Linked DNA regions of Homo sapiens: region 1 is linked to region 2. Evidence: promoter capture Hi-C in 16 types of primary human blood cells and fetal thymus (Javierre and others, 2016). All regions are on one chromosome and are shown on one strand. Each heading gives the region's core, a stretch centred on a gene start or on the middle of the fragment in contact. The rest is flanking DNA. Distances are from core to core; before and after follow the strand shown.

Region 1 (3,795 bases), core at 1,105-3,604, about 19 Mb before region 2:
CCTAGATCACTTCAACCTCTGTCCTAATCATTTCCAACACCTAGATGCAACCCTGCAGACTGGGACCAGCATCACTTAAGACTCCTCTGCCATCCCTTAGCAATAGGCTCAGCTCCCTAGCCCATGCCCTATGCACCTCTTCTAAACCTTCAACACCTTCCTCAAATTTCTCCACTGCACTCCATCTCATTTTCAGTCAATTACTTTGCCTTCTGTTTCTCAAAGAAAAGAGACATCATTGAGCAGGAACCTTCTCACGTTCTCATATCCAAGCCGTTTTGGCTCACAACCTACTTGCTGTCTCAGTTAAAGACTTGCCCCCTTATGGGATCCTACACTGTCCTACTGCCTCAGAAATCTTGTTCTTAATCCCATCCCCTCATTGCTTCAACTCTCATTCCTGTCACTCTCGACTGGCCTTTTTCCTTTCACATAACCATGCTTAAATCTATCTCAACTTTCAAATGAAAGAAATTTTTAAAATTCTCTTTCGGCCGGGTGTGGTGGCTCATGCCTGTAATCCCAGCACTTCAGGAGGCTGAGGCGAGTGGATCACGAGGTCAGGAGACTGAGACCATCCTGGCTAACACGGTGAAACCCCGTCTCTACTAAAAAAAATACAAAAAATTAGCCGGGTGTGGTGGCATGCACCTGTAGTCCCAGCTGCTCAGGAGGCTGAGGCAGGAGAATCGCTTGAACCCGGGAGGTGGAGGTTGCAGTAAGCCGAGACTGCACCACTGCACTCCAGCCTGGGTGACAGAGTGAGACTCTGTCTCAAAAAAAAAAAAAAAAAATCCTCTTTCAACCACACTTTCCACTCTAGCAACTACCCTGTATCACCCCTTCTCTTCACAGCCAAGCAAACTGGACATGTGTGTATGGTTAATGTCTCCATTTTCCCTCTCCCATTTACTCATTAAGTCAGCATCACTTAAAACTGCTTTCGGTGTTAATAACACCAATGGCTTTTTTGCTAAAACCAATGGAAATGTTTGCATCTGACACTGGGACACACTTCCTCTTAGAAATGTCCCATTCCCTGGGCTTCTCTGATACCAAGCTCTTGGGATTCTTCTTTCATTTCTAGTGGTTCCTTCTCAGATTGGCTCAGTCCCCAGCCTCTCCTCTTCTGACTCATTCATTTAACCTACCAAGAAGGCAACCTCCCCAGTCCCAGGGCTGTTGGGCATCCCTACCCTTTGGGCATGCAGCACATCCATTTTTCTGACACTGGAGGGCAAGTGTGCCTTTTCTTTCTGCCTCCCGCTAGACAGTAAGCTCTTTTAGAATGGCAACTATTAATATGTTTCATCTCTGTACCTGCCCTCCCACTCATAGCATCTGCAGAGCTTGGTATATGGGGTAGACACGAAGACTTCCCGTTGAAGAAGTAAATGACTGAGACCTGAGTGACCACAGTACTTCTATCAATTTTATATTAATGACCACAGAGTCAGCTCAGTGATTGATTAGTATCAGGCTTTGGAGTCAGACATCGGGGGTGCCCAATACCAAGCAGTCCGGTAACCAGAAGCATGACCTTGCACAAGTAAATCTCCAAGAGCCTCAGTTTCCTCATTGTCAAATGGAGATAATTATGGTACCTGCTTCTTAAGATTATGATAATTAAACGTGAAAAATACATGTAAAGTCTTCAGAGACAAACCTAGCACATAGCAGGTAGCAGTACTTAATGTTAGCAATAAATAATAGCAAATAAAGTCAATATTTAATATTATTGTTACGTTAGCATCAGGTACATGCCTTCGACAATGTATTGATCAGAGTAAGAGCACTACTAGGTTTCCATGCTGATCACCAGGAAGACAACCAAAAACTGCTGTCTTCCTACCACCGCTTGGAAACATGCGTCCATTTGCTCATTAAACGTTTTACTTCCTTCCTGTGCCAGAGCTCTGCCTTAGGCTCTGTCCTGAAATTTATTTGGCACCTGCAAAGGCCCAGTGATAACTCTTGGCAACCGAATCAAAATGCCACAACTTCACAATTCCACTGGCTCACTCCAAACGTGAAATAGAAATTGAGCACCTGGAACCTATCTAGAGCCTGCTTTTGGGCCCTGGTGTTTGATAACTGCGCCCCACCCACTGACTCTCAACCTCTGCAGCGCCCCGGGCTCTAGCCCTAAGCGCCCCTCGGCCAGCCGCTGGCACATCTCTTACACCAGGGGAGGCGCGCGCGCGCGCACACATACACACACACACACGCACACACACACACACACACACCAGCCTTCCTTGCCCACCTGCTGCCCAGAGGCCGACGACGCATGCACCAGCAAGGACAAGCCCAGTCTTTTCAAGCGACACCTGTCGCCTGGCCTTTTCCGTGCCGGAGGGCGCGAGTCTCACGCTGTCTTTTAAATGCGTCACCCAAATCCCCACCCCTATCTGTACCAGGCGTTCCGCACTCCTCCCAGTGGTTTGCATGTGCACTGGTGCTTTCCTTTTAGGACTTAGGGGAACTCCAGCGGTAATAACCACACACACTTCCTCTTAATCAGTGGCCTGGCAAACCCACTCGGGGATTTCCATGACCCAAAAGCATGACTCTTAACCGTGGCATATCTTCGCGGCATTTACTGAAAGACATTTGCTTCATTGCTCGTGGGTCAGAGGAAATCTTGATAACAACCCATATAGAGAGGACGATCATTGCTTAGCCTGCCTGGAAAAGGTCAATATGCCCTGTTCTCCACCCTCCATCCGCCATACACTTTACACGTAAAAAGGTTAGGTTTTTCAATCTTCTACTATAGCTGCAGAAGTCCAGCATTTAAAAAAAAAAAAATCGAAACTTTGTGAAATATTTCTATTTATTTTTACTTTTTGTTCTGATCAAGAAAGTAAGAGGTGAAAGGAAATGTAGGGGTATGTGAAAAAAATCATGCAGTTCTCCTTTGCAGTTTATTTTACCATTTTAAAGATTGAAATGGCTTGGTAAATTTTCTGTATGGAAATACTTTTGTTTGGTTTGGTGAGTTGTTTTTTTTTTTTTTTTAATAAGTAGGGTGGAGTTGGCTACTTAAAAAAATCCCTCCTTTATAGCCTTTGATCTCACAGGGCAGGTTTCTGAGTTGCAGTGCCATTCTCAGGGAAACCTGACATCTTTGAGTCTAATTGCACTGCCATATTTCCCTCAACGTTCTCTAAGCAGTAAATTTAAGCAACTTTATCTGAGAGCCATCCGTACCAGGGTAACAGATGGATTTGGAGAGCTCATCTGATTTTCTATCTTCCAGTAGATCAAAGACAATTACCAACCAGAGACAGAGCCCATAAAGATTATTGGAGACTTCATCGTTCTGTGGAAACAGCATCCAGTGCATTCTGCACGCAATTGGACTGAGCTGAGGCATCCTCTTGTTTAGGTGGACTTGGCTGTCCATAGCAGCTGAAGTTCCAGTTGGAATTATTTCAGAAAGACTAAGTGTATTTATCATATGGAGATTTTAATCCACATTTGAGTCTGCTTCAATCAAGACTTTCTAAGCCATTTTCAACTCACTCCTGAGATTATTGAAAATAATTTGCAGGCCTTACACATTTTTGATTATGTACTCACCAGAAGAATTTTGAAAAGCTCTGCATTCCCTTGCCCATTTTTAACTTAACATTAAAACATAAAGCTCTTGTACATGTCAAGAATCTACAAAATGTAAACATAGATATTTTCAGAAAAAATTGATAGAGCACTCTTTTAAATGTATTTGATGGATCCTAATACCATAGTAATTTGACATACATGATCATCCATGAAGCAATTATCAGGTCA
Region 2 (3,645 bases), core at 1-2,500:
TATTGCCAGACGTCAGAAGGCCTATCATCAATAATATCCCACCCCTCCCGCCTTTTCTGAGACACGGGCTTGCTGTCGCCCAGGCTGGAGCACAGTGGTAGGATCGAGGCTCACTGCAGCCTCAACATCCCGGGCTCAAGCGATCCTCCCACCTCAGCCTCTAGTGTAGCTGCAACTACAGGGGTACACCACCATGCCCAGCTAATTTTTTTGTTTAATGTTTTTGTAGAGACGGTACGGGGTCTCCGCATGTTGCCCAGGCTGGGGTTGAACTCCTAGAATCACGCTATCTCCCCGCGTCTGCCCCCAAAGTGCTGGGATTAAAGGCGTGAGCGACCGCACCTGGCCAATATCCCCTTTGAACATCTGCTTTCGCTGGTTGGTAAAAAAGTGTCATTTTAAATTTAGTGTTACTCCTTCAGGCTATTCCCTCTCTCTTCTTACTTGCAGGGCCAAAGCAACGTCTCTTTCCACCTTGGTCACCTTCCAACAACGATTTCTTCGGACGCCTTTGTTAATCATTCCTGTATGAAAAATCAGTGAATCTGAAGCTTTGGGGAGAGTGAAAGGGGGTTGGAAAACAAACGGCAAAACAAAAATGCATTTCGGAGGACTACCCCAACTCTGTGGGTGGAAGTGGGCTTCTCCGAATAAAGGCGAGGGTCGCCGCCTCGGGTCCTCGCACCTCAACAAAAGACACCAACTCTCTCAACTGTACTGTTAACAGATCTAAATGATACTCCAAGCCCAAAAGTAAACCGACTCTCTCAATCTCTTAGCTAAAAAATGGAGAAGGAAGCGTAGGGCCCCATGCAACCCCTTCAGGAGCTGAGACCGAGGCTCACTGGGCCTCTGGATGCCGCTTCCAGTCGGTCCCGCCCTACATCAGTCCCCAGCATGGCCTCCACCCTCTGGTTCCCAGGTTCGTGCCCGCGGCTATCCGACCAGATCGTCCTCCACCTCACCGTCCCCACTGAACCACCACTTGACTCCTGCGCACCCCTAAAACCTCTGCCCGGCTCCGCGGAATCGTCCCAGTACTCCTAACATGGCGGCCGAGTCCCCTTTGCTCCTTCACTCTGGGCGCGTCCCACTTGGAGCATTTTGGGCATTGTAGTTTCGGGGATTGCCTGGGTATCCCTTCAGGACGTAAGAAGACTACAGTTCCCAGAAAGCACCGCTCCCGAGCATGGCTATTGGGGACGTTTGGACAGAGGGATGATGTCATTGCAAAAGCCCCACTGCATTCATTGTGCTACGGTCTCTCCACCCCCTGCTGCTGCTGGGCTTGCGATTGCCGCTCGCTCCAGCTGAGCTAAGTGTAGCAGCAGCACCAGGGCAGGGACTGACTCCAGCCCTTGGACTCAGGACATCGCAGACCTTCCCTTGCGTGCGTGACTCATTCGCACATCCATTTCTGTTTATGCCTGGGGTGGGGAGAAAAATCCCAAACCAGGTGAGTTGAAGTGATTTATTCAAATGCTTCTACCAAGTTATTCCTCCCGCTTAGTTCTCAAGGCTTTCTTTTGGGAAGCTGTGAGCGGTGGGGAGGTGGGGGGGATTGGGGAGAGGCTTGCAGGCACAGCTAAGGGGAAAAGCTCTGTGCCATTTGGGTCACTGCAAAGAACAACTCCAGCAACCTTCCCCCGCCAGAGGACGGGTGCCTGCCAATTCCCTAGTCGCAACTCCTCTCAACCTTTTTGAGGCGGAGAGAGGGGGCTGGGCTGGGAAGGATGTTGGGGAGTGCTCTTGGAAAATCTGAGGAAGGCAGAGGTGGGGGACTGCAGTCCTGTCACACACGGCCCGAGAGCTGAGGTTTGAGTGGGAAGGGGTGATGCGTGGGGAGAAATGGAGACAGTGAATTAATGTGGTCGCACTACTTTAGAACATTTGAATGTCGCTTGGACGAGCACTAGTTATTAATTTTTAAGATGAACGTGCTTAAGTTTTGTAGGGCTTTATTTTATGTGTGTATGTCTATGTGGTTTGTCTCGCCTTTTCTGCTGATTTGAGGTGACAGTGTCCTTTAATGGTGCACTCCGTGCCAGTCAGAAACATTTCACGTGTCTGGCGAAGGTTCTTTCAGGCTGCTGGAAGCAGCGTTTTTGTTAAATGTTTTCCGTTCTCCGACTGCTGGATTCAAGATTGTTTGGAAGTGGAGCCGACAGATTTGTGCTTGTGTGTTTTAAATTACATTGCATAGGCTCTTTGCCACTGACAATGGTACCATAATGAGCTGCTGTTTCCTGAGGCATAGTCACTACTCACAAATAACGGTTTGAAGAGATCGATTAGGGAAGAGGGGTTCATTTTAACACATTAGAGAAAGGGAAAGTTAGAAGCGCTGTTAACCTTCATTTGCCATTACTGAAAGGTGCCCATGGAAGAGTGATTTTGGTTGTTTTGTTATTGTTGTTTTTTTAAACGAACTGACATTTAACAGGAGAGAAAGCATTCTGACTTACATGATGCTCTTGTAAGAGTTATAGGGATAATTAGGGCAATAGATATGTTACTTTGAGATAAACAGCTGGCTGGCTCCACAACAGATGGGGCCAGTCTTGGCTGAGAGATCTACACCCTTGGAAATGAATGGGCCTGGGGTCAACCACACCCCCTCTTGGAATGTCAAAAGAAGGAGAAATGCCAGAGTATTTGCTTAACTCTAGAATGCTAAACCTTTTCCTAGCTGAGTCAGACATGGGCGAAATTCTTTACTGGCTGTCTTCTGCTGCTAAGCCAATTTTGTTCATTTTAAATTCAGATCCTTAGGTCTCCAAAGTTGTAGCTGTGTGATATTTCATTAAATGCTGCTTGATGCTGAATGCAAAGGACAGTCCATTGTATGGGCTTTGTAGTAGAGTGATTTATTGGGATGCCAATGAGCAGCTTTTGGATTTGGGAAAAGATCAACAGTTAGCCTTTGCCTCTGCGTCTCTCTGTTGATGACGCTCTGCTCTTCTGGACACCCTACCCTTCTCTCCTGTACTTTCATTTCTTCCCCCCACCCCACCCCATCCCACCCACATCTCTTGAAATTCTGTTTATTTCTCTATCTCTCCATTTGCAGTTTACATTTTTCCTTTCTGTTTCAAAACCCCTCCTTTATCACCAGCATATCACATCTCTTTCTCTTCAATCTTAGAACACACTCCCTGGTCCTCCACTTCAACTAGGAACTCCTGGGTGGATGTAGACTATGTGAATATTTTTGCAGAATCCTCTTTGAAGAGAATTTCTTTGCCTTTTCTTTTTCTTGCAGTCTGTGCTTGGCAGGATGAGCAGCAATGAGCCTGACCCCTGGTCTGGTTTGTAGTTCCTGTGACAGACATAATTTAGCCCCAGCAGCATGTGAACAATGAAATGCTGCAGTTGGGCTCATGCCACTTTTCCTTTCACTGGCACCTGCCTATGGATTAGCAAGGTTTTTAAATGCTCTACATGAAATGTTCTCATAATTCCCAAGGAATAAGTAGTCTTCAAGTGGCTTGCCTTATACAATACATTTTTTTTTTCCTTATCCTTGCTGCAGCTGGTGGTGGGAAGGCTGATCTTTCCCCCCTCTTTCTTCCTGTTCCCTGTGGATTGCTGAGTAGCAATCCAGGTGGCCAAACTGCCCATTTGGTTTTTTGAAGATACTTGGAG

What was found. Contacts are between HindIII fragments. The CHiCAGO score rates a contact against its expected background, and 5 or more counts as called.
Region 1: a contact is called between the fragment with the promoter of BIRC3 here and the fragment with the promoter of RAB30 in region 2, in 1 of 17 cell types (total B cells). The highest score is 5.6, in total B cells.

The regions. Positions count from the first base shown.
Region 1 is chr11:102,316,043-102,319,837 of GRCh38, reverse strand. It overlaps BIRC3 (baculoviral IAP repeat containing 3), which reads right to left and starts at 2,354. Exons shown (of 9, transcript NM_001165.5): 1 at 2,267-2,354. It overlaps LOC124902739 (a long non-coding RNA gene), which reads left to right and starts at 2,595. Exons shown (of 2, transcript XR_007062864.1): 1 at 2,595-2,752; 2 at 3,266-3,795. RefSeq lists enhancers at 103-182, 1,363-1,562, 2,364-2,723, 2,734-2,803, 1,708-2,907 and 1 more. The HindIII fragment of the contact is 7,438 bases long and covers 1-3,795 here.
Region 2 is chr11:83,069,502-83,073,146 of GRCh38, reverse strand. RAB30 (RAB30, member RAS oncogene family) reads left to right here and starts at 1,250. Exons shown (of 5, transcript NM_001286060.2): 1 at 1,250-1,456. RAB30-DT (RAB30 divergent transcript) reads right to left here and starts at 1,081. Exons shown (of 3, transcript NR_038903.1): 1 at 1,001-1,081; 2 at 343-524. It overlaps LINC02951 (long intergenic non-protein coding RNA 2951), which reads left to right. Exons shown (of 3, transcript NR_186233.1): 3 at 451-745. RefSeq lists enhancers at 808-1,297, 3,061-3,290, 3,311-3,360. The HindIII fragment of the contact is 10,527 bases long and covers 554-3,645 here.